Linked DNA regions of Homo sapiens: all the other regions are linked to region 1. Evidence: promoter capture Hi-C in 16 types of primary human blood cells and fetal thymus (Javierre and others, 2016). All regions are on one chromosome and are shown on one strand. Each heading gives the region's core, a stretch centred on a gene start or on the middle of the fragment in contact. The rest is flanking DNA. Distances are from core to core; before and after follow the strand shown. Region 1 holds the start of CLEC14A (C-type lectin domain containing 14A). Region 2 has its middle 200 kb from the start of LINC00639. Region 3 overlaps LINC00517 (long intergenic non-protein coding RNA 517). Region 4 has its middle 310 kb from the start of LINC00639. Region 5 has its middle 11 kb from the start of LINC00517. Region 6 has its middle 330 kb from the start of LINC00639. Region 7 has its middle 30 kb from the start of LINC00517.

Evidence for each region. The method cuts DNA at HindIII sites, captures the fragments that hold promoters and counts their contacts. A CHiCAGO score of 5 or more calls a contact.
Region 2: a fragment that was not itself captured here is called in contact with the fragment with the promoter of CLEC14A in region 1 in 2 of 17 cell types (endothelial precursors and megakaryocytes); the score reaches 7.8 in endothelial precursors.
Region 3: a fragment that was not itself captured here is called in contact with the fragment with the promoter of CLEC14A in region 1 in 1 of 17 cell types (neutrophils); the score reaches 7.8 in neutrophils.
Region 4: a contact is called between a fragment that was not itself captured here and the fragment with the promoter of CLEC14A in region 1, in 1 of 17 cell types (endothelial precursors). The highest score is 5.8, in endothelial precursors.
Region 5: a fragment that was not itself captured here is called in contact with the fragment with the promoter of CLEC14A in region 1 in 4 of 17 cell types (neutrophils, naive CD8 T cells, naive CD4 T cells and 1 more); the score reaches 7.1 in neutrophils.
Region 6: a contact is called between a fragment that was not itself captured here and the fragment with the promoter of CLEC14A in region 1, in 1 of 17 cell types (endothelial precursors). The highest score is 7.7, in endothelial precursors.
Region 7: a contact is called between a fragment that was not itself captured here and the fragment with the promoter of CLEC14A in region 1, in 1 of 17 cell types (neutrophils). The highest score is 10.2, in neutrophils.

What each region holds. Positions count from the first base shown.
Region 1 is chr14:38,254,412-38,257,970 of GRCh38, forward strand. CLEC14A (C-type lectin domain containing 14A) reads right to left here and starts at 1,682. Exons shown (of 1, transcript NM_175060.3): 1 at 1-1,682. The coding sequence starts at 1,611. The coding sequence ends at 139. LOC112268136 (a long non-coding RNA gene) reads left to right here and starts at 1,634. Exons shown (of 5, transcript NR_169588.1): 1 at 1,634-2,034. RefSeq lists an enhancer at 864-1,491. The HindIII fragment of the contact is 4,914 bases long and covers 1-3,559 here.
Region 2 is chr14:38,717,881-38,721,439 of GRCh38, forward strand. No RefSeq gene overlaps it. Among named protein-coding and RNA genes, the nearest start is that of LINC00639, 200 kb to the right of the region's middle. The HindIII fragment of the contact is 1,236 bases long and covers 1,405-2,640 here.
Region 3 is chr14:37,894,784-37,898,342 of GRCh38, forward strand. LINC00517 (long intergenic non-protein coding RNA 517) reads right to left here. Exons shown (of 2, transcript NR_135286.1): 2 at 1,277-3,559. Among named protein-coding and RNA genes, the nearest start is that of LINC00517, 5.6 kb to the right of the region's middle. RefSeq lists an enhancer at 1-255. The HindIII fragment of the contact is 6,010 bases long and covers 1-3,559 here.
Region 4 is chr14:38,607,036-38,610,594 of GRCh38, forward strand. No RefSeq gene overlaps it. Among named protein-coding and RNA genes, the nearest start is that of LINC00639, 310 kb to the right of the region's middle. The HindIII fragment of the contact is 4,009 bases long and covers 1-3,559 here.
Region 5 is chr14:37,911,288-37,914,846 of GRCh38, forward strand. No RefSeq gene overlaps it. Among named protein-coding and RNA genes, the nearest start is that of LINC00517, 11 kb to the left of the region's middle. The HindIII fragment of the contact is 6,750 bases long and covers 1-3,559 here.
Region 6 is chr14:38,589,996-38,593,554 of GRCh38, forward strand. No RefSeq gene overlaps it. Among named protein-coding and RNA genes, the nearest start is that of LINC00639, 330 kb to the right of the region's middle. The HindIII fragment of the contact is 4,708 bases long and covers 1-3,559 here.
Region 7 is chr14:37,930,611-37,934,169 of GRCh38, forward strand. No RefSeq gene overlaps it. Among named protein-coding and RNA genes, the nearest start is that of LINC00517, 30 kb to the left of the region's middle. The HindIII fragment of the contact is 3,705 bases long and covers 1-3,416 here.

The sequences.
Region 1 (3,559 bases), core at 432-2,931:
TCCTCAGTGGAGTAAAGGGAATTTAGAGGAAGGGGGATTTCTGCAGAAATTGTCAGTTACACAAGTAAGTTCCTCTTGGTTCCCCGTTTCATCAAAAGTGAAAAACTGTTCACAGGAGTGCCCATGTCCCCTGTTTCCCTATGCATCACTAGAGCCAAGAGGGGACTCCGCCAGCAAGGCACCCTCTGCTCTGTCCCGCAGATCACAGTCCCCGACTTTCACCCCATTGTTTGTGCAATGTGCAGAACTGGAGCCCAAAGCAGCGGGCTCAGGATCACTCTCCAGGCCCGGCGGGCCCATAGACTCCTTCCTTGGCTGGGAAGAGGGGCTTTCGTGAAAGCAGAGCTTGACAAGCCCCAGTACTGTCATGGTCAAGATCACCAACACTACTACTGCTGTGCTCACAAATATGAAGACCACGGCAGAGGAGGAGTCGAAAGCCTGAGGAGTGGCAGAGGAAGTCGTAGAATTAAACTTGGAAATCACGCTCCCTGATGGGGTGATAGTGGCCTTTGACTCGGCTTGAAGGGACATTTGAAGGGTAGACATCGTGCTCTGTGATCCCCATCGAGGAATCTCAGGAATAGATGTTACTGAATTGTCTTGTTCAGGGACAAGTGGTGTCTCTCCCAGCTTCTCGTCGACCCTGATTGGCCATGTTCTCTGCGGCACGGGGCTGGTTGCAGTGGCCGGCGGGCGCCTGGTGGGCACCCCGGTCCCCCCAAGGGTCGGCTGTCCTTCCCCACTGGTCACACAAGAGCGGCCGTCCTTCCCCAGCTCGAAGCCCGTAGCACATTCGCAGGCAAAGCCTCCCAAGTCGTCTAGGCAGTTAGGGAGCTCTGCGCATTTGCCAGCACGGAGGTACCTCCCGGGGCAGGGACACAACACATCGCCCGAGAGTTTGTCCCAGCGAGCGCCGATTTCGTCCGCGATGCAAGTAACTGAGATCGGGAGCTGTCCCCGGCAGAGCGCACTCACCTCGGTCCCAGGTGGACTGAAGTCCAGAGCGGCGCTGTGCAGCTGGAAGGGCGCGCGATAGCTCAAGTTAGAGGCGGCCCCGGGGCGCGGCGCAGGACACAAGACCTCAAACTGGTACTTGCACAGGTAGCCGTTGGCGCGCAGGTGGCATCGCATCTCCTTCCAGCCTGCGGGCTCGACCCCACCGGTGGCCTGGAGTACCGCGCATCTCCGCGCGGTGCAGGAGCGTTGGGGCTCCTCCACCCACTGCAGCGTGTCGCTTTCGAGACCGCCGGGGTCGGAGGACAGCCAGGAGAAACCCCGCAAAGGCTCGTTCTCCAGGGTGCAGTGGGAACGCCTGCGCTCCAGTGCGACCCAGAACAGCAGGTCTTTGGAGCCCCCTCCGGGCCCTGGGCCTGCCCGCAGGAGCGCGAGCACAGCGCGCAGCTCGGCGCCCGCACGCACGGTGCTGAGCGCCCCACCTCGCAGGATGCAGGCCTCCTCGGCCGCCTGCCGCTTCATGGTAGCGTGGTGCAGGCTGTAGCAGGCCCCCGAGGCCGAGCAGCCAGCACGGTCGGCAGTGGGGTGTTCGCCGCCGCCCGGCCCGGGCCAGAGCGCCTGCCAGAGGAGGCACAGGGCGAACGCCGGCCTCATTCTCTGAGGCCCCGCACGCAGAGCTGCTCCCAACTTGGATCTGTCCCGCTCGAGGACGCAGAGCTGTGTCTGGAGCGCGGTCACCGCCCTCTACAGCTGGCTTCCCCAACCCGGTTCCCCCTCCCTTCCCCTCCGCCCTCGCTCCCGACGGACCCCCCAACTGCCAAGAATCCCCCCGCGGGCCCAGCGGCCAACAGTTTCCCTTAGGCCGCGACAGGAAATGTGTGCGGAGCGCTGCCAGGCCCGGTGCAGCCCTGAGTTATTCTGGGGTCAGGAACACAGCTGGCGCCGGGTACAGGGGACGCAGTCGACTAGAAGGTCAAACACCCTGCTTAGAGCAAGAGGAGAAATTCGCCACTGGGATGAAGTGTGTGGTTTTTCTCCGTTCAGGGAGTTTCATCAGGACCGCAGAACCCATAACACGTAAGCGAACATAGGCAGGAAGGACTTGAGAAAGGAACTGGCTTATGATTATAAGACCACGCCCGTCTATTGTGTTTCTGTCCGGAGCTGTGGAGTTAGCGTCAGAATAATTCGTAGACGGCTCCAGTGTTTGGGGGGCCTGTGCCTGTGGGGGAAAAATATGTTGTGAAACAACTTAGCAACTGCTTTTGCCACCAGAGGCAGCACTATTTAACCGCATATCTCTCTATGGGTCTTTGCTTCTCTATTATGTCAAGAGATTTCAGGAGTCCTAACTACTAAAGAATTTGGAGTTGTTTGGGTATTTTAAATGGGAAATTCTGCTTCTTCCATCAGCACTTGCTTTAGAAATTTATTTTTCACTTCCACGTGTTTCTCTTTGAGTTAGACCATATTGATTCATTACAGAAAGGAAATGTATTTCTAGGACTAAATGAAAAATAATGACCATAGATCTTAACAGTTAGGTTGTTAGCTTTCCTTGCCACTGTATTGGTTCAAAAATTCTTCAAGTTTATAGGTTATACATAAATGAGTTCGTGGCCTTATAAATATTCGAGAACAACTGCCCTATGTGTGATTTTAGCCTTGAACTATTTTAGTATCATTTTCTCCTATGATTGAGTGGCAGCATTTATAATAGTAAGTTGTAAACATCTCCTTTAAGGAAAATTAGAGTTCCTTAAGAAATTAAAATGTTTATTCCATTATAATGAATATTGTATACTGTCAAAAAATATCTTGTAATTTGAAAGATGGGTGAGCCAATTTCTTTAGAATTCCAGTGGGTGTTTTGTTTTAATATAAACATTTCAACTCAGTGGGAAGTGGCAAGGAATTAAAGATGAATAAAGAAGTAAAGGTTAAAAACTGTACTGTTATGAAAGGATTTCTTGTTAGCAACTTAGACAATTCAGTATCAGTTTAGAAAACGTACATTCTATCTTGGTTCATAATGGCCAAATACGTTGCCATCAGAAATACATAGAGAGTTTCAGCTAAGCCCTCTTAGAGATGTCTGATGCTTTTAAATATCTTTAATCAGAATGAAAGTTGCCATTCCATGGATAATGCATATAAGCTCACTTTGTTTTACTGCATTCAGGTTGATGAGGGGTGGGAGGGAAGGTTTCAGGATCACATCTGTATGCTTCCATCTTATTTTTACCATAACTCTCATTCTTCTTTCCTCCTGGAAATTCCATGTATCTTAACAAACAACAGTAAGCCTATGAGTCATCATCATACTTACCTTGCTTTTGCTGAGTATGGAGCTTTGCACTAGGATTTCTCTCCTGCCCTATTTCCCAATTTAAAGAACATTCCTTAGTCCTTCCTTCAGATGTCTGAGAATCACCTTAAACGTGGCTTTGCGTTTAAATTAGGTAACTTAGTGTCTTATAAGAAAGAAACATGAAAATCCAGAAATCAAATTGAATGGTTTTTAAAAAATACTTAGTCACTTGGGCCAGCTCTCTATAGACCATTGCAATCTTATGACTGTGTTTGTAAATGTGTCCATGTA
Region 2 (3,559 bases), core at 773-3,272, 460 kb after region 1:
ATATCCATGGATTCAACCAACCATAGATGCAAAATATTCAGGAAAAAAACCACATTTGTACTGAACATGGACAGATTTTTCTTGTCATTAGCCCCTAAACAATACAGTAAAACTATTTACATAGCATTTGCATTGCATTAGGTATAACTAATCTAGAGATTATTTAAAGTATACACGAAGATGTGTGTAAGTTATATGCAAATACTATGCCATTTTTAATTTTTTTTTAAGACATGGGGTCTCAGTATGTTGCCCAGGCTGGCCTTGAACTCTTGGGTGATCCTCCCACTTCAGCCTCCTGAGTAGCTGGGATTATAGGCACGCACCACCAACCTGTCTTTATTATGCCATTTCAAATAAGAGGATTTTGGTATCCTGGAGGGGAAGGGGGTTGTGGCGGTTTTGGCACCAATCCACCATGGATACTGAGGGACAACTGTACTTGAAAATGGTAATCAAGTCATCACTTTCAAGCCTAGTTGAATCCAGTGCTTCATCTACTCCACACCTGCACCCACACAGCTGAATGTGTCTGAAGAAAAACACATAATTGTGCTGATTGATCTCACTTTAAATTCATGACCACCCATTTCCTAACAAAGCTGACCCCTCCATTTGAACACGTAAATCTAATTCCATCTCTTCTGCTCAAGGATACAACTCCCACAATTGCCCCTTCCTCCTACATGTTTTATTTTCCCATCTGTACTCAACATGCAGTATTTCTATCATTTTTTTAAGGCACTCACAATCCCACTTTCCTGTCCTGGTATGACCCCATTTCCACACTTTGAAACAAATAGACTTGCTCTGTACAGTTTCTCTCTTCCTGTTCTCACTTAAACCCACTCGGAGTATGCTTTTGCCTGATTGCTCCATCAAAACTGCTCCTGCCAAGCTCTCCAATGATCTCCAAAGTGGAAATCCAGATTCTTCATCTTACTTGACTTAGCAGCCTTTGACCTGGTTAAACATTATTTCCTTCTTGAAGCACTTTCTTCACTTGACTTCCGGGACACCACATGGTCTCAAATGCTTCCTCTCAGTCTTGGCTGGTTCCTTTACTCCCCAACCTTTCAATGTTGGAATACTCCCAGCCTCCCTTGCCCTGGAACTTCTCTTTCTTATTATCTGTCTATATCTCTAGCTTCATCTCTCAATCTATCATGATTCCCATTCAAGTTAGAACAGGCTAAGTCTTCCTGGGTTAAAAACAACCACACCCCAGTCCCAGTAGCTTAAGAAAGGTTTCTCACTCATGTTGCCTTTCAGTTGTGGTTTGCCTAGGTATTGTATCCCATGTTGTCCTTTCTCTGGGACACAGCTCGTAGAGCAGCTACCATAAAGAGTACTGCCAGCTGCTGTGACAGAGATAAGAATGTGACATTGTGCATTAATTACTAAAGCTTCCATCCAGAAGTAACATGTATTATTTCCACTTGATTTTAGTTGGACAGAGCAAGTCACAGGGCCATGATGAGTAGAAAAATACAATTCTAACATAAAACCATATTAGAAGGTGAAATGGAAATATTTGGTGAATGACACTAGTGATTACCAAAACTCCCAAATGTGTATCTCCTGCCTAGGCTTCTCACTAAACTCTTTTTTTCATTACCTAACTCTCTGCTCAGCATCTTCACTTAGATATCTAAAACCTCAAACTGGCCGGGTACTGTGGCTCATGCCTGTAATCCTAACACTTTGGCAGATTGAGGCAGGTGGATCACCTGAGGTCAGGAGTTCAAGACCAGCCTGGCCAATATGGTAAAACCTTGTCTCTAACTAAAAAATACAAAAGTTATCTGGGCATGGTGGCGTATGCCTATAGTCCCAGCTATTTTGGAGGCTGAGGCAGGAGAATCACTTGAACCCAGGAGGCGGAGGTTGCAGTGAGCCGAGATCGTGCCACTGCATTCCAGCCTGGGCAGCAGAGTGAGACTCCAACTCAAAAAAAAAAAACAAAAAACCTCAAACTAAGCATCTTCAAAACTGAGGTCTACTCTTCTCCTCACTCCAAACCAAACCTCCTCCTACAGTTTTTTAATCTCAGTTCATGGCAACTCCATGAACTCCATATATAAGCCTCATAAGGGTTTATTGTTGTATCTTCAATGCCAAACAAAATGTGTGGCAAAAAGTAGGTTGAACAAATGAATTGATGAATAAATATTGTGTTTCTGTCTCAGTTCATGCTCTGATTTCTTCACATCTTTAAAAAATGGTAAAGTAGATACCTTACTTAAAAAGATTCTGACTAATTGAATGTAATGATCAACACTGTAGCTCGAGCATACAGGGCCTGTTACTATACCAAATACTGTGTTGAGTTCCTTGCATTCTCTGCCTCTCCCACCCAACAATTAGCCTACAAGTGCTATACAAGTAGTTCTCTGACACTGTTAGCCTCCTGAGTCCGAGCCTTCACTACCTACATCCCCTCCCTCTTCATCCCATATGGCCATTCTCTCTCCATATGTGCATACAAACCTTTTGGGAATCCATTGCATATGTCACATTTTTTAAACAGGTTATCCTGTGATGCACATTAGACATTTCTAAGACCATTTACTACAAGGTTGATTTTTCTTTGAGAACTTATTATATTTACTTTTGGACTCAACACATTTTTTCTCATTAAGCTTCTCAAGTCATCTCTCCTTACTCATCAGACAAATGCCATTCCAGGTGAGGAATTTTGTGTCCTAAAAGCCTGAGTTTTTAAAGAGCTATTTGCAAATTATTGTTATTTTCTGGATCTGACTGACATACCAGGTGAGAGTTGTCAGCTGTTAGCTGACAGTTGCAAATCCAGGGGCCTTAAGTCAAGACTCCAGATAAGAAACACAGCAGCCCAAACTAAAGGTACTATTTCCAAATACATGTCTAGGTATTTGCTTCTCTTTTTTTAGAATAAGATCAGATTATATATAAATTATATTATTGCATAGTATCTCTTTCATAAGGTCTGTTATGGTGATAAAAATCAATAAATATATGTGAAGTGCTTAGAACAGTACAATGCAATTTAAGTATGTGTTGCTATTTTCTTTTCCTTAAGATGACTAATTATTTAATAGTCTAAGTGGGTACTATATTAGGGTTCTCTACAGGGACAAAATTAATGGAATAGACATATATATAAAGGGGAGTTTATTAAGTATTAATTCACATGATCACAAGGTCTCACAATAGGCCGTCTGTGGGCTGAGGAGCAAAAAGAGCCAGTCTGAGTTCCCAAACTGAAGAACTTGGAGTTCGATGTTTGAGGACAGGAAGCACCCAGCCTGGGAGAAAGATGTAGGCTGGGAGGCTAGGCCAGTCTCTCTTTTCAGATTTTTCTGCCTGCTTATATTCTAGCTGTGCTGGCAGCTAATTAGATTGTGCCCACCCAGATTAAGGGTGGGTCTGCCTTTCTCGGCCCACTGACTCAAATGTTAATCTCCTTTGGCAACACCCTCACAGACACACCCAGGATCAATAATTTAATCCATGATTGAATCCTTCAATTCAATCAAGTTGACACTCAGTATTAACCATCACAGGTATACTCTCTTAA
Region 3 (3,559 bases), core at 573-3,072, 360 kb before region 1:
ATTTGCACTTATGGAGAGAGGAAAAACAACAGTCAGACCCCCTTTGCTTTGCTGACATTTATTTGCCTTAAGCTGTGCAACTGATCCTCAGGAAGTCAAGGGGTTTAGTTGTTTTCCTGGATTTCTAGGAAAAGTAAGTTTGCACATCTCAAACTGAGTAATCAACTTTAAAACAAATGACTAGATATGTATTAGTTGCCACAAAGCAACTTTCAAATTCTGCCCATTGTACAACTTCCATTGTACCTGGCGAAGTGGGTGACACATTTAATTTTGCTGAGGACAAATGTTAAGGGACGCTACCTGAACTACCATTGAGGGAAAAGGAACGCAGAATTTCCTGGTATTCCACTGGATACCCCTTTTTCTTGCTGCTTCCTTAATACAGCCTCTCCCTTTTCCTTCCACAATGGTGTTGCCAAGTAAGCCAAAGTATGGAATGAGTTGTCCCAGGGCAGGTGATCATGCCAGGGTCACCGTGCATTAATAGCTTTGGGACAAAGCCAGGTATGTTCACAGGAAACCTAGGCAACCACTCTAAGTCCTGACCTACCAAAATTTTCTCATGGATTATGTAAATGATCATATACCACTTGTCAAGCCAGACTCGGCAGGGTTTCTCTTGCCCTTTAAACTTTCTCTTCATTTCTGTCTTCTTTCTGTTCATTTTTCCTCTCTCCTTTTTATTTAATTATTGCTTTCATTCTCTATGTCCTGTTCTGTGCATTTCCTATATTATTTCCCATCTTGTTTGCTATATAACACACTCACTAACATTGCGTTCATAATTTTCCGTTTATTTTCATATCACACATGTGTTCAAAATAGACATTGTCTCAGATGAAAAAAGTTGTCATATACCAAGCTAGAGCAGGCTTAGCTAGACTGCCATTTCTCCATGAAATCTTATTGACCATTCTTTTTAAACGCTTCATAGCTTTTTTGAGAAATAACCATCTTTGGGGAATGAACTGTAATTTATTGGGAGACGTTAGCTTTAGTAAATACTTAAGTACTCTCATGATAAAGGGACCAAGCAACATTTGTCTCTGTTCCTGCATGTTTAAGAATTTAAGCATAAAAGCCGTAGCAATGTTCCTGGTGGATTGTTGCCCCAAAGTTAATATGCTTCTGAAGATTCAGGACAGTTTCTGTGGAGTATATTGCCTAATAACTGTTGTGACCGGTGCTTATATATTTTGTTCTTGGCTCTTAAACTTGTGCTTGGGGTGTAGTGTTCAGTTTATTGAAGAAGGAACAAAAAAGCAGTGGCTTTATGAAACTCATTTATTCACTTTATCAGGATTGCTTCATTGTTTGTCAACTCAAAATATTAGTGGGGATTTAGGGAAATAATCTTGCTCTCTAATTAGATGAAATGGGAGGCTTATTGCTGCAGCCATAAATGATCTTTTAGGTGTTACTAATTCAACTAAATCTCAGATGTCCAATTTGTGCAGCCTGTTGATGATATTATTCAGTGAAAAATGGTTGGGGAGATTGGGAATGATTAAGAAAATTAGTCTTGCTCACAACTTAATGATAACACTTGAGGATAATGTAAAAACAATAGCAACTTTGAAAGTCAAGATGGGTCATCCAGCAATGAACTATTACCCAACTCAGTCGCCAAGATTTGGATCATTAAGTGCTCAGCTACATAAGGAAGAAATGAATTACTAATTTGTGTTGTTAAGGCTAATGTTCTTGTTTAGTGTTTAGACTGACCTATAAGTTCCTGCGCTGTCCTGAATGAAGCCTTGCAGGATGGAAATATGGCAAGGTTGCCAGCTGGGCTATACTCACAGGGGTCCCAGATTATCTCTGTCCGGGAAGCAGTGGTGGGAAACGGGTAAAAATATTCTCCACATGGGGTCTCCACTTCTCTGGCATCAATAATCCAAGCTACAAGTTCTTGCTATTCTTTATCTTTGTCCTTACTGTGCCTAAATTTATCTTTATCCATTCTCAGCCTTTTTTCAAGGAAAAGAAGTATTGTGAGGGCAATGAGGATCCACGTCTTTACATCCATTTCTTTGCTTTGCATAAAGTCCTCAGTATTTATTTTCCTTTAGGGATGCTGGCTTTCTTAGGTAGGGGATCTATTATAATAATTGATTTCAAGTCCACTAGGCTGAGATGGCTCCAGTGCCTTTGTAAGCAAACCAAAACCTAACTCAACCTAAATACTAAAATAAAACTTTAGTTTAACCAATCAGAAATTGCTAACCAACCTGTAACTAGAGATTTTCAGCCTAAATCAATCAGATATTTTCTTTGTCTTGCTTCCACAAACACCTTATACAAGTTTTCCCCTTGCACCCTCTCAGTGGAGTGCTGAACCACTTGTAGTCTGAGACTGCTGGGTTCATGAATTGCTGAATGCTCAAATAAACTTGTTAAAATTTTAATGTGCCTAAGTTTATCTATTAACAGGTCATTCTTATCAGGGGATTGAAAAGGAACTGAAAAATACAAAAGTGATGTACTTTTATAGAAGATAATGAAGATCAGAAATCTTAAGGCTGCCATACAGATCAGAGGTTTCACACGTTCCTTTGATTAGGCAAACTCACTCAAGGCAATTAACAAAAGAGTTCAGGCTAACACTTTGGGGTCCATTTAATCAGAGACTAGCCTAATGGGTCAATTCTGAGGCTCTACTAAGGCTCTAAGAGCCAAAGCAGCCTTTGGCTTTCTAATAGTGAAAAGGACAAAGTTTTAAAGCAGACATGTGTCTGCTAATAACCAGGGCTCAATCCTTAAAATTAATTCTGAAGCCTCCAGTTTTATACTTGGCAACTCCAAAATACTGAATTATTATTAAGCTATTATGATACTTTATGTATGCTTATTATTTTAGTGTCCATCAAAAGAAATATTTCATGTAGTGGCTTTAATAAAATTTATTTTCTTAATAAAAACATTGGCCATATCATGTGCTGGATAGTAGAGAAACTTCACCTACATTTTGAAGAAGATCGATCATGGATAATTAAACTTAAGCAAAAAGGGCCGCTTAGTTTTAACTGGCCAAATAGTGGCATCGAATCTCAGAGAGGACCAAAACAGGGTTTAAGAAGGCAGGTCTTATAGATTGAATCTTATTCAAATGACCTAAATGTCAAAAGTAGTATGATTATAAACCTACGAAAAAGTGAGAAAAATCCATTTCTAGGTTATATTGTTAAGTTAAAAAAAGAAAGGTACAACAAGTATATATAATATGCTACATTTTGTGTATGGCCAGCACAGAAAATGAGAATATATATTTGATTTGCATGTATTTGCATAAAGAAACCTTGGAAGGATAAACAATAAACTAATAAAAGTGGAGGAATGAAGTGGATGGAGACTTGGGTGGTAGCATGACTTCCCCGAGTATACCTTTACATTGCTTTGAGTTTGAAACAAGTAAATGTATTACTTACTCAAGAACAAAAATGAAAAGACAAAAACATGATGAGATATTTTGTTGGAAAAGTTAAACCTAGAGGGAATATTTGCAGAAGATGTAAAGTGTGACATTTCAACATAAGTACAACATTGTGATGTAGCA
Region 4 (3,559 bases), core at 523-3,022, 350 kb after region 1:
TGACAAAATTACAGCTAACATCATACTCAACAGTCAAATATTGAAAGTTTTTTCTCTAAGATCAAGAAGTAGTAGACCAGGATGCTCACACTATTTCTCTAAGATCAAGAAGTAGACCAGGATGCTCACTCTCACCATTTCTACTCAATATATTACTGGAAGTCCTAGAGAGGGCAATTAGGCAAGAGAAAGAAATATAAGGCATACAAATCGAAAAGGAACAAGTTAAATTGAATTTGTTTGCAGATGACATTATCATATATATAGAAAGCCCTAAAGACTCTACCAAAAAAAAAAAAATGAATTCAGTAAAGTTGCAGAACACAAAGTCAACACACAAAAGTATGTAGCATTTCTATACACTAACCATAAACTATCAGAAAAAGAAAATAATAAAACAATTTATAATAGCATCAAAAAAATACTTAGGAGTAAATTAACCAAGAAAGTGAAAGATCTGTATACTGAAAACTAAAAAACATTGATGAAAGAAATTGAAAAATACACAAATAAATGGAAAGATATCCTGTGTTCAAGGATTGAAAGAATAAATAGTGTTAAAATGTCCATACTACATTTCTTAGTTCCTTTTGTGCTGTTATTGCAGAATACCACAGACTGAGCAATTTATAATGAACAAAAATTTATTTCTGTTCTAGGGTCTGAGAAGGCCAAGATCAAGGTGCTGGCATATGGAACAAGGGCCTTCTTGGTGTGTCATAAAATGGCAATAAGAGCAAAGAGAGGGAGAGACAGGGAGAGAGAGAAAGAGAGGGGAGAGAGAGAGTGAAGGGAGCCAAACTCACCCTTTTATGACAAACCCACTCCCATAAAAACAAAAAAAAACCATCAATCCACTCATGAAGGTGTAGACCTCGTGGCCTAATTACCTCTTAAAGCCTAATTACCCACTTTAAGGCAAATATTCATAGCATTCCACCCAACTCCCCAAAACTAATGTCTTTCCTACATACAAAATACATTGATTCTACCTCAATAGCCCTAAAAGTCTTAATGTGTTCTAGCACAAACTCAAAAGTCCAAAGTCTCATCTTCAACATCATATGTGTGAGATTCAAGGCACAATTCATCCTAAGGCAACTTGCTCTTCAGCCATGAGCCTATGTAATCAAACAAGTTGTCTACCTCTAAAACACAGTGGTCAGATAGACACAAGATAGACATTCTCCTTCCAGAAGGGAGAAAAAGGCAAGAAAAAAGGGATAGCTGGTCCCAAGTAAGTCCAAAACCCAATAGGGTGAACAACATCAAATCCTAAGGCTCCAGAATAATCTTCCTTGCCTCTATGTCCCACCTTATATGCACACTGGAATGGGAATTGGGTCCCCATGGCCTTGGACAGCCCTGCCCTATGGCTTTGTTGGGTTCAGCCCACACAGTAGCTCCCACAGGTTAGAGTCTCATACCTGCAGCTCTCCCAGGCTGGCATTGCACACTGGCAGTGCTACTGTTCTGGAGTGGGCTGCCGCCACCCCCAGGGCTCCAGCAAGCATAGTTCTAGTGGAGATTCTCTTTGGCAGCTATTTCCCTGTGGCATGTTTTCATCTGAGTCCAAAGACTGTTCAATACATCCTTTGAAACCTAGGTTGAGACCTCCACAGTCCCACAACTCATGTACTCTGCACCTCTCCAGGGTTATCACCATGTGAATTCTGCCTACATTCACAGCTGTTCCATCCCCAGTGGTGGTCAGAGCAGCACTTGGGCCTTCTTGAGCCATAGCTGGGGCAGTGGAGAAGTGTTGTTCTGGAATGTGAGGAGCAGATACTTGAGGAGGGACAGGGCAGCAAAAGCTGAAGCCCCATGGGTGCCCTGGGCCCCTCTCCAGAAACCTTGCCCTCAAGACCCTGGCTTGGTCCAAAGATTTCTGAAATACCACTGGAGTCATTCTATTGTCTTAGTGAATAGCACCTGACATTTTTCTAGCCATATCAATCCCTTCAGCAGTCACTTGGCAACATCGTTAGGATTCTCTCCCGAACATGCTTTTAAAATTTTTTACATTGCCAGGCTGACAATTTTCCACATCTTTTCATTCTGCTTCCATTTTAATTATTAATTCCACCTTTAAATCATTTCTCTTTCCTTGAATTTTACTATATGCGGTTAAAAGACGCCACATAGATCCTTCAATGCTTTTCTGCATAGATATTCCTCCAGCCAGATATCCTAGTTCATTGCTTTGCCTGGGCACAGACACAATGTAGCCAAGTTCTTTGCCACTTTATAACAAAGATGATGACCATCCCTCCAGAGCCAGTACCCCAGTACCTTGATTTTTATTTCTGAGATCTCATCAGAATTACCTTAACTGCCCACATTTCTACCAACATTAGGATGGCAACCACTTAAGTAACCTCTAAGAGGTTTCAGGCTTTAGCTACAGCTCTTCTTGCCAGAGCCCTCACCAGAATTACTCTTAATACCTCATTTACAGCAACCTAGGTTTTTTCCTAACCTCCTCTTCTAAATTTTTTCAGCTTCTACCCCTTACTCAATTTCAAAGCTGCCTCTACATTTTCAGGTATTTGTTATAGAAACAGCCCCTCTTCTTGATACCAATTTTATATCTTTGCATTCTGCTACTATAACAGAATATCACAGACTGGATAATTTATGAGAAACAGAAACTTATTTGTCACAGTTCTGGAGCCTGGGAAGTGTAAGACTACAGTATCAGCATCTAGCAAGGGCCTTCTTGAGGTGTCATAACATAGCATAAGGGCAAAGAGAGGGTGACAGAGAGAGAGAAGGAACTGAACTCATCCTTTTTAACAACCCAATCCCGAAATAACAGTATTTATTCATTCATGAAGGGAGAGCATTCATGGCCTAATCAATTCTTAAACATCCCACTTCCTAATATTATTACAATGGCAATTAAATTTCAATGTGAGTTTTGGAGGGAACAAACATTCAAACTATAGAATTACCCAAAGCCAGGCAGGGGCATGGTGGCTCATGCCTGTAATCCCAGCACTTTGGGAGGCCGAGGCAGGTGGATAACAAGGTCAGGAGTTTGAGACCAGCCTGACCAACATGGTGAAACCCCATCTCTACTAAATATACAAAAATTAGTTGGGCACAGTGGCAGGCATCTATAATCCCAGCTACTTGGGAGGCTGAGGCAGGAGAATTGCTTGAACCTGGAAGGTGGAGGTTGCAGTGAGCTGAGATCATGCCAGTGCACTCTAGCCTGGGAAAAGAGCAAGACTTTGTCTTAAAAAAAAAAAAAGAATTACCCAAAGCCATGTTACAGATCCAATGCAATCTCCAACAAAATTTCAATGGCATTTTCCACAGAAATCACAGTCCCTGATTTCAAAATATATTACAAAGCTATAGGAATCAAAACAGCATGGTACTGGCATAAAAACAGACACATCGACACATAGAGGAATAGGATAAAGAGCTCCAAAGTAAACCTACATATTTACAGTCAATTGATTTTCAACAAAGATGCCAAAAATGCAAAACAGGGAAAAAATTGTCTTTTAAATAAACAGTATTGTGAAAACTGGCTAGTCACATAGAGAAG
Region 5 (3,559 bases), core at 407-2,906, 340 kb before region 1:
GCAGCACTAGAGACCCTTGGGGTGAAGACAGAGGTTCTTGGAAAGAGCTTGTTTTATACAGATGTATGCTCACTACACCTTGCAGGGATCGACAGTGACTTTATATAAATATATTAGATTTTCTAACCCCTATAGGCCAAAAATCAGCTGAATATGTGTGGATTGAGTCCTTCTCATAAGGGGCAGAGAGACTGTCAGATGTTATCTTCAATGAGTCAACAACAATAACAATAATAAAAAGACAACTTACCTAAAAGACTCAGTAGAAGAAAGGTGAGTAGTCAGTACAAATAGGACACATACTTGGTAAAATAGGGTTGCAGGAGGAGATGGAATACAACTGAAGCAAAAGACATAATCAGAGCATTTAAGGAGATTTAAATATAACCAAATAAGAGTTTCTGTAATCAAAGATTATCCTAGTGATTTCGCTGGCTGATTTGGAAAGGAAGGTCACTTTTGAAATAGAAATTTGTGAAAACATATCAAAAGATGGAAGTCATTATGGAGAAGATAAGATTAGCTCCATAAGACTCACTATACTCATTGTAGGAATTCCAAAAATAGAGAGGAACGGGAGAAGGAATGTCAGTAATTAAACAATAGCAAGAAATGTCTGTGATTTGAAGGAAGCTCTGAAGATCTAAATCTACACACAGAAAGGGCTCACAGATTCCAGTAGGGTGCATTAATAGAGACATACTGAGGCAGGTAAAAACTCTTGAGCTCTGTCAGGACAAAAATTATCCAAAAGTTTGAAATTGATAAAAGAGATTGTTCAGTGCTATTTCCCATGCAGGTCTGGGCTTGACTTTTTATTGACTGAATTGTTTAAAGTGTGTGGTGGCAGAAGCCTGCAGTGGTAGAGGTTAATGTCTAGATTTTTGTGCTCTAGAGATGAAAATAATTTCTGTTTAGTGGAACAAAAGGATACAGCTCATGGCCCTAAGACACTAAAAAGTTTTGTATTTAACCTAGTGATTTTATCTTATCATTCCTTTATCAAATTACCTGTATATACTTACCTTCTTTAATCGTCTTTGAACCTTTTGTTAACATTTTACTGGTTTCCTCATTTTTTAATGAGGTAAAATTATTGGCAAACATTCATTTTATATTGAATGAGAATCATGGTGTTGTCTTTTTGAAAATGACTTTTTTAAGTTTTGGAGAGAAATCACTAGAACACCCAAGCGCACTCAAGAGGGTGCTGTATTTCTGGATAAGTGTAGCTCGTGGGCTGTGTATGCTCAAGTTCGTCTTTTCTTGCCCCTTAAAGTAGATCCTCAGCAGCAACTAAAGTTTGCCAATGCTCTGTTCCTCTATTATTTTTTTCCTCTCTCTTTATATTGATTTTGTGCTTTTGCTTTTTCTGGTTCCTGAATGGGCAGTAGTCATTCCCCATTGGTGGCAGCAATGATTGGGAATTGTGTTTTATGGTCTGACCACTGGTGATCTCTGTCCAATGGATGATGGAGATCTAGTCTCTGAAGGGTGAGAGATGACAGGATTTGATTTGTTAATCTTTTTCTGTTTGCCTATTTGTGAACTCTAATCGATTGAAAAATACTCTGTGACCATTATGGAAGGGCAACAGCTCTTGCGATCTAGACTAGTGAGTTTTTATGTTTCTGGTCTTACTTTGGACCTGCAGCTGAAGTTGTATACTTGGGCTAAAAATTATTTGTTTGTAATTCCAAAAAGCCTTTACCTCTTGTGTATGAATGGGCAGCATTTTCTTACTTCTGGAGAGTATTTAAAAATTAGGTCTAATGTCCATTAAATTAAAGGAGATCTGTTCTGATTGCTTTTTCAAGATAAACAAGTCCTTATATAAATCAAGTATTCCAAGAATTCACAAAAACCCCGAATCTTTAATACTTTAAATGTGTGAAAGCAATTCTTCTTACAGAAACTTGTATCACAGAAATATTTTAAGAATCCAGGCTCACAAAATTAAGGGAATGTTTGGATGAATTAGACTGCTTCTATAATTTTCTGTGATTTACTAGCGTTCAGTATAGCATAGCCATCTTTTTAGTTTCCTTTGTAAACATGATTTAAGTATGTTTCTCATAAGGAGATTAGTTAATATATGAACATTCTAAACTTCTTACATTGTCTTACAGATCAAATAAACATTATAGTTATATAACGCTCAAGATGATAAAACTGTAAATTTGTCTTCATAATTCTGACATTTTTACAGCAGTAGTTATGTTCTGTAGTGTGTCAATTTGAACATAATTTTCAAAATTCTTAGGTAACTTAAAACTTTGGAATTTTATAAATTATGTTAATTAAAGTATAATCAGTAGATACCAAGATAATTCATATATAGTATTGGTACTGAAATGTTGATTACTATACATAATTTCAAGTTCATATAATTTCGCATCTAACTGTGATACACTATATAGTGGGTATATCTTTGGGCTATGATATGGTTTGGATGTTTTGTCTCCTTCAAATCTCATGTTGAAATGTGATCCCCACTGTTGGAGGTGGGGCCTGGTGGGAGGTGTTAGAATCATGAGGGTGGATCCTTTATGAATGGCTTGGTGCCATCCTCCTGGTAATGAGTTCTTGTTCTATGACTTTATGTGAGAACTGGTTGTTTAGAAGAGCCTGGCACCTCCCACTCCCTGTCTTCTTCCTTTCTTGTTTGCTCCCCCTCTCTCTTGCTCCCTGTCTCACCATGTGACATGCTGGTTCCCCTTCGCCTTCCGCCATGATTGGAAACTTCCTGAGGCTTTCACCAGAAGCAGATGCTGGCACCACACTTCCTGTACAGCCTGCAGAACCATGAGCCAAAATACCTCTTTTCTTTATAAATTACCCAGCCTCAGGTATTCTGTTATAGCAACACAAACAGACTAAACAGGATATTCAGAATAATACAGAAATGAATATTTTATTTTTGCTACTTTGTGAGGGCGTAAAGTGATATGTGTAGCAGGAGAAATTTTTGTTATCAGTATTCATTAGTTTTATTGTACTGGTAAAATTCCTAATTATGATGTATTTGTCAACTTTCTAGTTTCTAGTTTGTGCTGTGAAATAGAAATTATAGTTTTAGTTAAAAGTTGAATTAATGTGACTGGTTGAGACTATACTAGGAGCCATAGAGAGGAAATACAAGTGGGTATGTGCTTTTGTTTTTCAAGGAAAAAGGGGAATGATTTTCTCCTATATTAGTGTCAGTTTGTTCCAGAAAATGAGAGCACAGTGAAGGACAAAATCTGATTCTGTATAGCAAGTTATAGAGGGTTTGAAGGATATGAATTTTATTTGCCTTGAATTATAATAACTGAAATGGAAAAGAAGCTATAAAATATATTAAAATTTTGGCAGTTTGGTTTTGATAGGTTTATTCACCAGATAATGTAAGGAATGAAAAAGGGCTTGTGAATCTTTTACTGCCAAATATATTAATTAAAAACTAGAATTCATCTTTCTCTCTGTTAAAAATGATAATCTTAGAACTTTTAGTAAGGTATATAAAATGTTATTCTGCACCCTCTGTGAAATCTATTCCTATAGCAGAGACTCCATATCT
Region 6 (3,559 bases), core at 316-2,815, 340 kb after region 1:
AGGGAAGGAAGAAAGGGAAGGAGGAAGGGAAGGAAGAAAGGGAAGGAGGAAGGGAAGGAAGAAAGGGAAGGAGGAAGGGAAGGAAGAAAGGGAAGGAGGAAGGGAAGGAAGAAAGGGAAGGAGGAAGGGAAGGAACTACTTTAATTGGCTCCTAAAAGTAGCATGTTTCTTTTGAGTAAAACTCAGCTTAAGCTAACAATATTTGAATGGAGTGTAAGCTCTTTATAAAAGGGATAAAATGTATCAACAGTTTACTTACATAAGTTATGATGGCTATAAACTGATCACTACATGAGTCAGGCCATGTGCTTATATCCAGTTATGTTATCTTACGTACTTCTGCAAAAGCTCTATAAACTACTATTATATCTATGTAAAAGACAAGACTCTGAAGCACAAAGAAACTTAAAAATCGTCTAAAATCACAGAGCAAGCAAATGGTGGAGCTGGGATTTGAACTCAGGTTTATCTATTTTTATTTTTTATTTTTTAAATTTATTTTATTTTTTATTTTATTTATTTTTTTTCTTTTTTGAGACAGAGTCTCGCTCTGTCACCCAGGCTGGAGGGCAGTGACGTGATCTCAGCTCACCGCAACTTCCACCTCCCATGTTCAAGCAACTCTCCCCTGCCTCAGCCTCCCAAGTAGCTGGGACTACAGGTGTGCACCACCACACCCAGCTAATTTTTTTGTATTTTTAGTAGAGACGGGGTTTCACCATATTGGCCAGGCTGGTCTCAAACTCCTGACCTCAGGTGATCCACCCGGCTCAGCCTCCCAAAGTGCTGGGATTACAGGCGTGAGCCAGCGCGTCTGGCTGAACCCAGGTTTATCTAGATGCAGAACCTAAGCTCTTAAGCCATACTAACTCCACTACCTCCAAGTAGCTGCTCATCCAATAAATATTTATTGGGCATATGGCAGACATTGTATTACGGGTTAGAGAACAAGACACTAAACAGGTACTAGAAAGATATTCATTTTCTAGTGAAAGATTAGCTATTTATCTATAAGTATCAGATTGCCTGATAGGCATTAGATGAAATTTTCTCCAGGCACTACAAATATATAGCTATTTATTTGATTAAGCAACATCTTACAGGATACAAATGAAAAATGTTCTACTACTACTACCCGTTGCCCCTTCCCTCAATGTACACACACACACACACACACACACAGACACACAGACATACAGACACACACACACACACACACCTATTCTATTAAACTCATTTTTTTGGATAGTTCTGCCTCTGTCCAAGGTTAGAATCTCAAGAAAATCCCATAACGTTTATATGGCTACTCTCAAATAATAAAAATTTCTCAGGTCACTTTTAGCTGAAAGAAGTTGTTCTTTCAATAATTAAAATGTGTGGTGCAGTGTAATCATCAAACCCTACATATCTTTCAAAGTTAAGACTTCTCCCAGGTCAAACCCCTTCTAGCCCAGGAAGCCTGGAGTAAGAAAGGCAAATGTGGTCACCAGCACCTGCTTCAATTCCCTGCCTTGCTCCTCTGCTCCTCCCTTTCCACTTTTATGTTTTCTGACCCCTTCAGGGAATAGGCCTTAAGCTGTGCTCTGGGCTTGGTGGATGTTTATAATTACAAGACACCTCTGTAGGTTTCTCAGAGATTCAATATCCTCCACTGGAAACCTCCCATTGCATGTCCCAGAACAGAGGTCATATCTCGCTGGCCTCTTTTAAGCTCCAATTTCAGCCCTAACACTCTGGGGGCCCATGCCATACAGACTATCTTGTTGGAATCCAATAAATAGCCCACCACCACTGCCTACCACTTGAAGCTCCTTTGAAGGATTATTCTAAGGATGTTTCATTCTTCTGCTTGGCCCTCAGAGGAAACATCATTACCCAACCATTGCTGCTAAACTACACTGGTGCAGTTTTTCCCCGCAATGGCCCAATGGCTTTTCACCCTTAGAGCCCTGAAGTCTGAGGAAGATATCAATCCACTAGGTCCCTGAATTTTTTATGTCAAGTTCTGCCTCCCACAGGCTTGAGGTAAACAGGAAACATTGGGCTGTCCTCCTCCATGTAAACACTGCGATAGAAGACCAGTTGCTGGAGTTCTGGGATGGCTCAGAACCCCAGCAACTGGTCTTCTCCTATCCCAGTGCTTTCACATGCCAGATGACCACATCCTTGGCATGTTAGCACCTCACTTTGGAATAGGGAGATGCCTGGGAAATACTGTTTTGTTCTCAGCCTTTGAGGCCTTAGCCAAAATCAAGACAGAGTCTCATTTAACATTCTGTTTCAAAAACATAAAGAAAAATGCTCAGGAGAATAAATGACACATCACAGTAAAAACTGTCTCTATATAATCATTTTCTAATATTTTCCATTAGGGAAATATTAGAGATTGGCCTTCTAATTTTGACTGTCCCCCTAGAAATGTCTAGTCAATCTGAGTAAATTGTTAGCCCTTATAGTCTTCACCTATAATTATATATATATGTATATATAATTATTTAAAGATTGTTGCATAGTCTTTCCAGGAAAATATGGCTCTGTCATTTGAGGCTCACATGATGGAGTGGTTATTGAAACATCAGTCGTTTTAGCCAATAACATGAACAGAAGACATTTTAGCCCATCAAATTTAAGCCAGGCATACAGACCCTGGTACCTGTTGGCAGACTTGTCCAAAGTGAGCACCTCTTGATTTATGAATAATCTGTACTTCCAGAATCACTGTTTTCTCCTATATGCAGGGACACACCACCACCTCAGGAGACCAATAAAGCTCAAAATGTTTTGACAACGTTAGAAATTGTATGAAAAGAATTAATAGTGGCATCTCAAAAACTAAATATTTTGTTCTCTTCAAGTACTGACCAAGAACGGAAGAGGCTTCATGGAAAAGCTACTTGAGAAGTTCTGGAAAACAAATCTTTAGCACTCAGTCCTTTTTTCTGTGTTGATGCGTCATTTGAGGCACTGCTATTTATGAGCCTACAGCTGAGGACTCTGTAGTGCCAGACAACTTAATCTTCCCTGATGTTATGGACTGAATGGTCGTGTACCCCCTTTCCACCAAAATTCATGTGTTGAAGCCCTAACCCTAGGGGTGGCTGTAACTGGAGTATGAAACTAATCAAGGTTAAATGAGTATAGGGCTCTGATCTGATTAGTGTCCTTACAGGAAAAGACACAGAGCTCACTCTCTTTCCTTCTCCATGTGCACACACTGAGGAAAGGCCATGTGAGGACACAGCAAAAACATGGCCATCTGCAAGGCAGGAAGAGTGTCCTCACCAGAAACTGAATTGGCTGGAAACTTGATCTTGGACTTCTGGCATCCAGAACTGTGAGAAAATAAATTTCTGTTTTTTAAACCGCCCAGTCTACGGTATTTTGTTATGGCGGCCCAAGCCGACTAATATATCCAATAACCTAGCAAGGGAGGAGAGGACAAAAAGACATTTCCTTCCTCTTTTTCAAAATGAGATCCCATACATTTCCAAGGATGTGTAAAAATATTAATATCTTGCTTTTACATACTATGTTTATACCCATAGTTCTATTTATTCTT
Region 7 (3,559 bases), core at 314-2,813, 320 kb before region 1:
ATCTTTCTTCCAAGGTGAGGGGCAGAGCTCTGTGAGGACTGAGACCGTGCCTCTTTTATTCACCACACTTACTCCCAGGGCCTAGAAAAATAACTGGCATATTAGGTACAGAGGAAATATTTGTTGAATCAGTGGACAAAGGAAAAAAGAAATGAAAACATGGAACCTCAGAAAGAACAAGCAAACTGACTGAGGTTACAAATCTCTCTAAATGGTGAAGGTTGACTCAGACTTGGGTCATTGTGTTGGCCCTCCTCAAAAGAGTTGCAGAATCTACCTATATGCCCTGGGTTTTCATGCGCAGTATAAGGTGCCATGGTTAGTAATATGCATTTTCATGTGGAAAGATCATGGACTATCTGGTAACCGATATTGGGTGCATCTGAGATAAAATATTATTACAGTTTTTTAGCCTCTGCAGTGGCATTTTTTTCGGAAACTTTTTTTTCTTTTTTTTACACAAGTTGATTCCACTATCCTTTCTGTATTAGATATTATTTTGAGTATGTCTTCTTTTCTCCTTCTGATCATGAGAACAATATATGGGAGACAACAAAATTACGTAGACTTAGGTGTGAATATTGACTGCCATATATCAGCTAAGTGACCTTAGGCAAGTTATGTAATGGGGATAATACTTCCTACATAGGTTCTTTTGTTTTCCTTTTTGGTCAGAATTAAATGAAATATGTGCATGTATATTGTAAGCATTCAATACCATGAATGATAAATTACTAACAATATATGCTTATTGTAGAAAATGTAAAAGTATTAAAAAGAAAATAATAAAACACTCCCAATTCCATTTTCAAAGATTAGTAGTTAGTAATTTGTTGTGTTTTCTTCTATCTTTTTCTCCTCTGTTTACATTTTTAAGTAGCTGAGATACCACTGCATATATAATTTTGTAAGCTGCTCTTCTTGTTTTTACCTCAGCAAGAGGCTAATTTGATGAAGAGATAAAAGCTGAAAAATGTCAGGCACGCCTTCCTTACCAGAGAATTTTGATGCTGTGTTCATAGAGCCCAGGTGGGCACTTCTTTGTCCTTTAAATTACTTTTCTATTCAAGGAGTGATGAAGTTGAAGGGTTGTTCCCTAGGACATCTGGAAGGCAGTAATCATTCTATGCTCTAATTGAGGAATAAATGTCCAGTTTTACTCTGTGCTTTTTCCAGGCCTGTGCTAATCAGGATGCTGGATCTTTGGGCTTTCAGATAATTAGTGATGGACGTTTTGCTCTGGTTGTTCAATAACCCTCCCTTTTTCTTTTCAATGCCTTCTCATTAGTAAGCCAAAGAGAAATTGCATCAAAGCAGCTAAATACACATTTATATGGCTCAAATATTATACCATGACCTGTTTGTGAATTACTCAAGGACCTGGAGTATTTAACTTGAAAACCAGGTATGCTTCTAGAGATGAGAGAGGATTGCCTTTAACAAGGGACACACTCAGATGCAAGCACCCAATGGTAGAAAATGTCATGTGGCTGTTTTCTTCCTGGCTAGCTCTGTTCGTCGGAGCGACCAAATTCAGCTAAGGTCAGGGACTGAGGGGTTGATGAGCTGGCACTTTTGGCTCTCACTTCATCTCGGGAAGGCATTGTGTTGTCAGAAATACACTTACTATTCTCAGGAGACAGGGCATTAAAATCCAAAGCAGTTACTGAATGCTCAGAGCAAAGGTTCTAGAAACCGTCACTAGCCTAGAAAGATAAATAAAAAGCAGATGTAAGTAGGAGTTAGGAAGCATTGGCCGTGGGTTTTCTGTATATTCTAACTGCTGAGAGTTTTGTTCCTGGCTGGAGTAGATTTCTAAAATTCTCATCATCACCATCATTTTCCTCCTCCTCATCATCATCATATTTGTTACGTGTGAGTGAGCAGGGACAGAAAGCTGCTTGACTTGTCTTCTGTTAGGCTGGTGGATATAGCATGTTGTGGGTTAAATCGTGTCCCTCCTTAAATATGTTCAAGTCCACACCCTTGGTATCTATGAGTGTGATCTTATTTGGAAACAGTATTTACAGATATAATCAAGTTAAGATGAGGGTCATATTGGATTGCAGGAAGAGGGAGGATCCCTAAATTCAACACTGGTGTCCTTATAACACTGTGTGAAGATACAGAGAGACACACTTGGAAGAACGCCACGTGAAGTTGGAGGCAGAGACTGGGGTGATGCAGCTGCCAACCCACAGACATCAAGGATCGCAGACTACCCTCAGAAGCTAGGAAGAGGCAAGGATGATTCCTTCCCAAGACCCTTCATGGGGAGCATGACCCTGCTAACACCTGGAATTTGGACATCTAGGCTCCAGAGCTATGACAGAATATGTTTATGTTCTTTTAAGCCCCCAAGTTTATGGCTTTTTGTCATGACAACCCTAGGAAACTAATAGATAGCATGCATGAGACTGACCTCCACCTATAAGCGTACTTTTTCAGGAGGACTAGAGTTCTTTTCTGTTTTCAGATCGAGCTTTACACTGCTTCTTATTCACTATTGCCTCCCTGAGGAAAATACAGAAATAGGGTATTCTTACAGTCCTGAGGGACTCATGGGTATACACACCGTCTTAGGTTGGGTTTCATTAGAAGTAGGCACTGACATGAGGATTTGTGTGGAAGCAGTTTCTTCGGAGACAATCCAAGGAAGCACTGATGAGGGAGTAGGGACATCTGATAGGGAAGGGAAGAAACAAATAAAGAGCCCATTACTGATCAGTTTACCATTGTGGGCAACCAGGGCTCAGTTCTACTGGGGAACTCTGGAAGACAATGCAAAACATACTTTAGAATCCCCCTCCACCACCAGAAGAGGGGAGTTGGAGACCTGTTGCCATAAATATGCCTTTTTTTCTTCCAAAAATCTTGTCCTTTTTTATTCCTATAGTGTGTGTGGTCTGCATTTTTAGAATTTGTTTATTTTTAAATAACCTCTGTGAGATCAACCTCTCAATCTGCATATTCAAATTTCAAAGTCATAATGAGCAGGACTTTTCTTGGATAAAAACTGATCAAACTGTATGTATTATCTTACTCCTTTCCATGATAATGCTGGATCCCTCTAGCCTGTCAGTGTGTAGGCATCATTCTGGAGCCTTCCTCCTCGATTTGCCTCTGCATACACATTTCCTGGATTAGAACCCTTAGTCCAGCTCTTGTCTACACTGTATGTTATGCACAATACCTGGAGAAGGTTAAGAGAACAGATCCTCAAAGGGTAGCTTTGAGGTCAAATATCCACATACTCTGAGTCTGCTTAAAGCAACACAGTGTAACTCCTTTGAGGATTTGAATTTGCCAACAGCTTACCAGGTGTGAAAGCCTGTTTACTTGATCTTTAGATTTTTTTTTTTAAGTCTTATTCTTAGTTACTGAGTCAGAATATCTGTTTTAGAAATGTCCTTTTAAGCTTTAGATTTGATTTGGCAAAGAGCATATATGAAAAAGTTAGCAAAGATTATTTAATTGTCTCTTTAACCAAGGAAATGATGAATGGGTCCAGGGATTACATTTGTCATGTATTTACATAGAAAGATTGCCCTACAAGAAC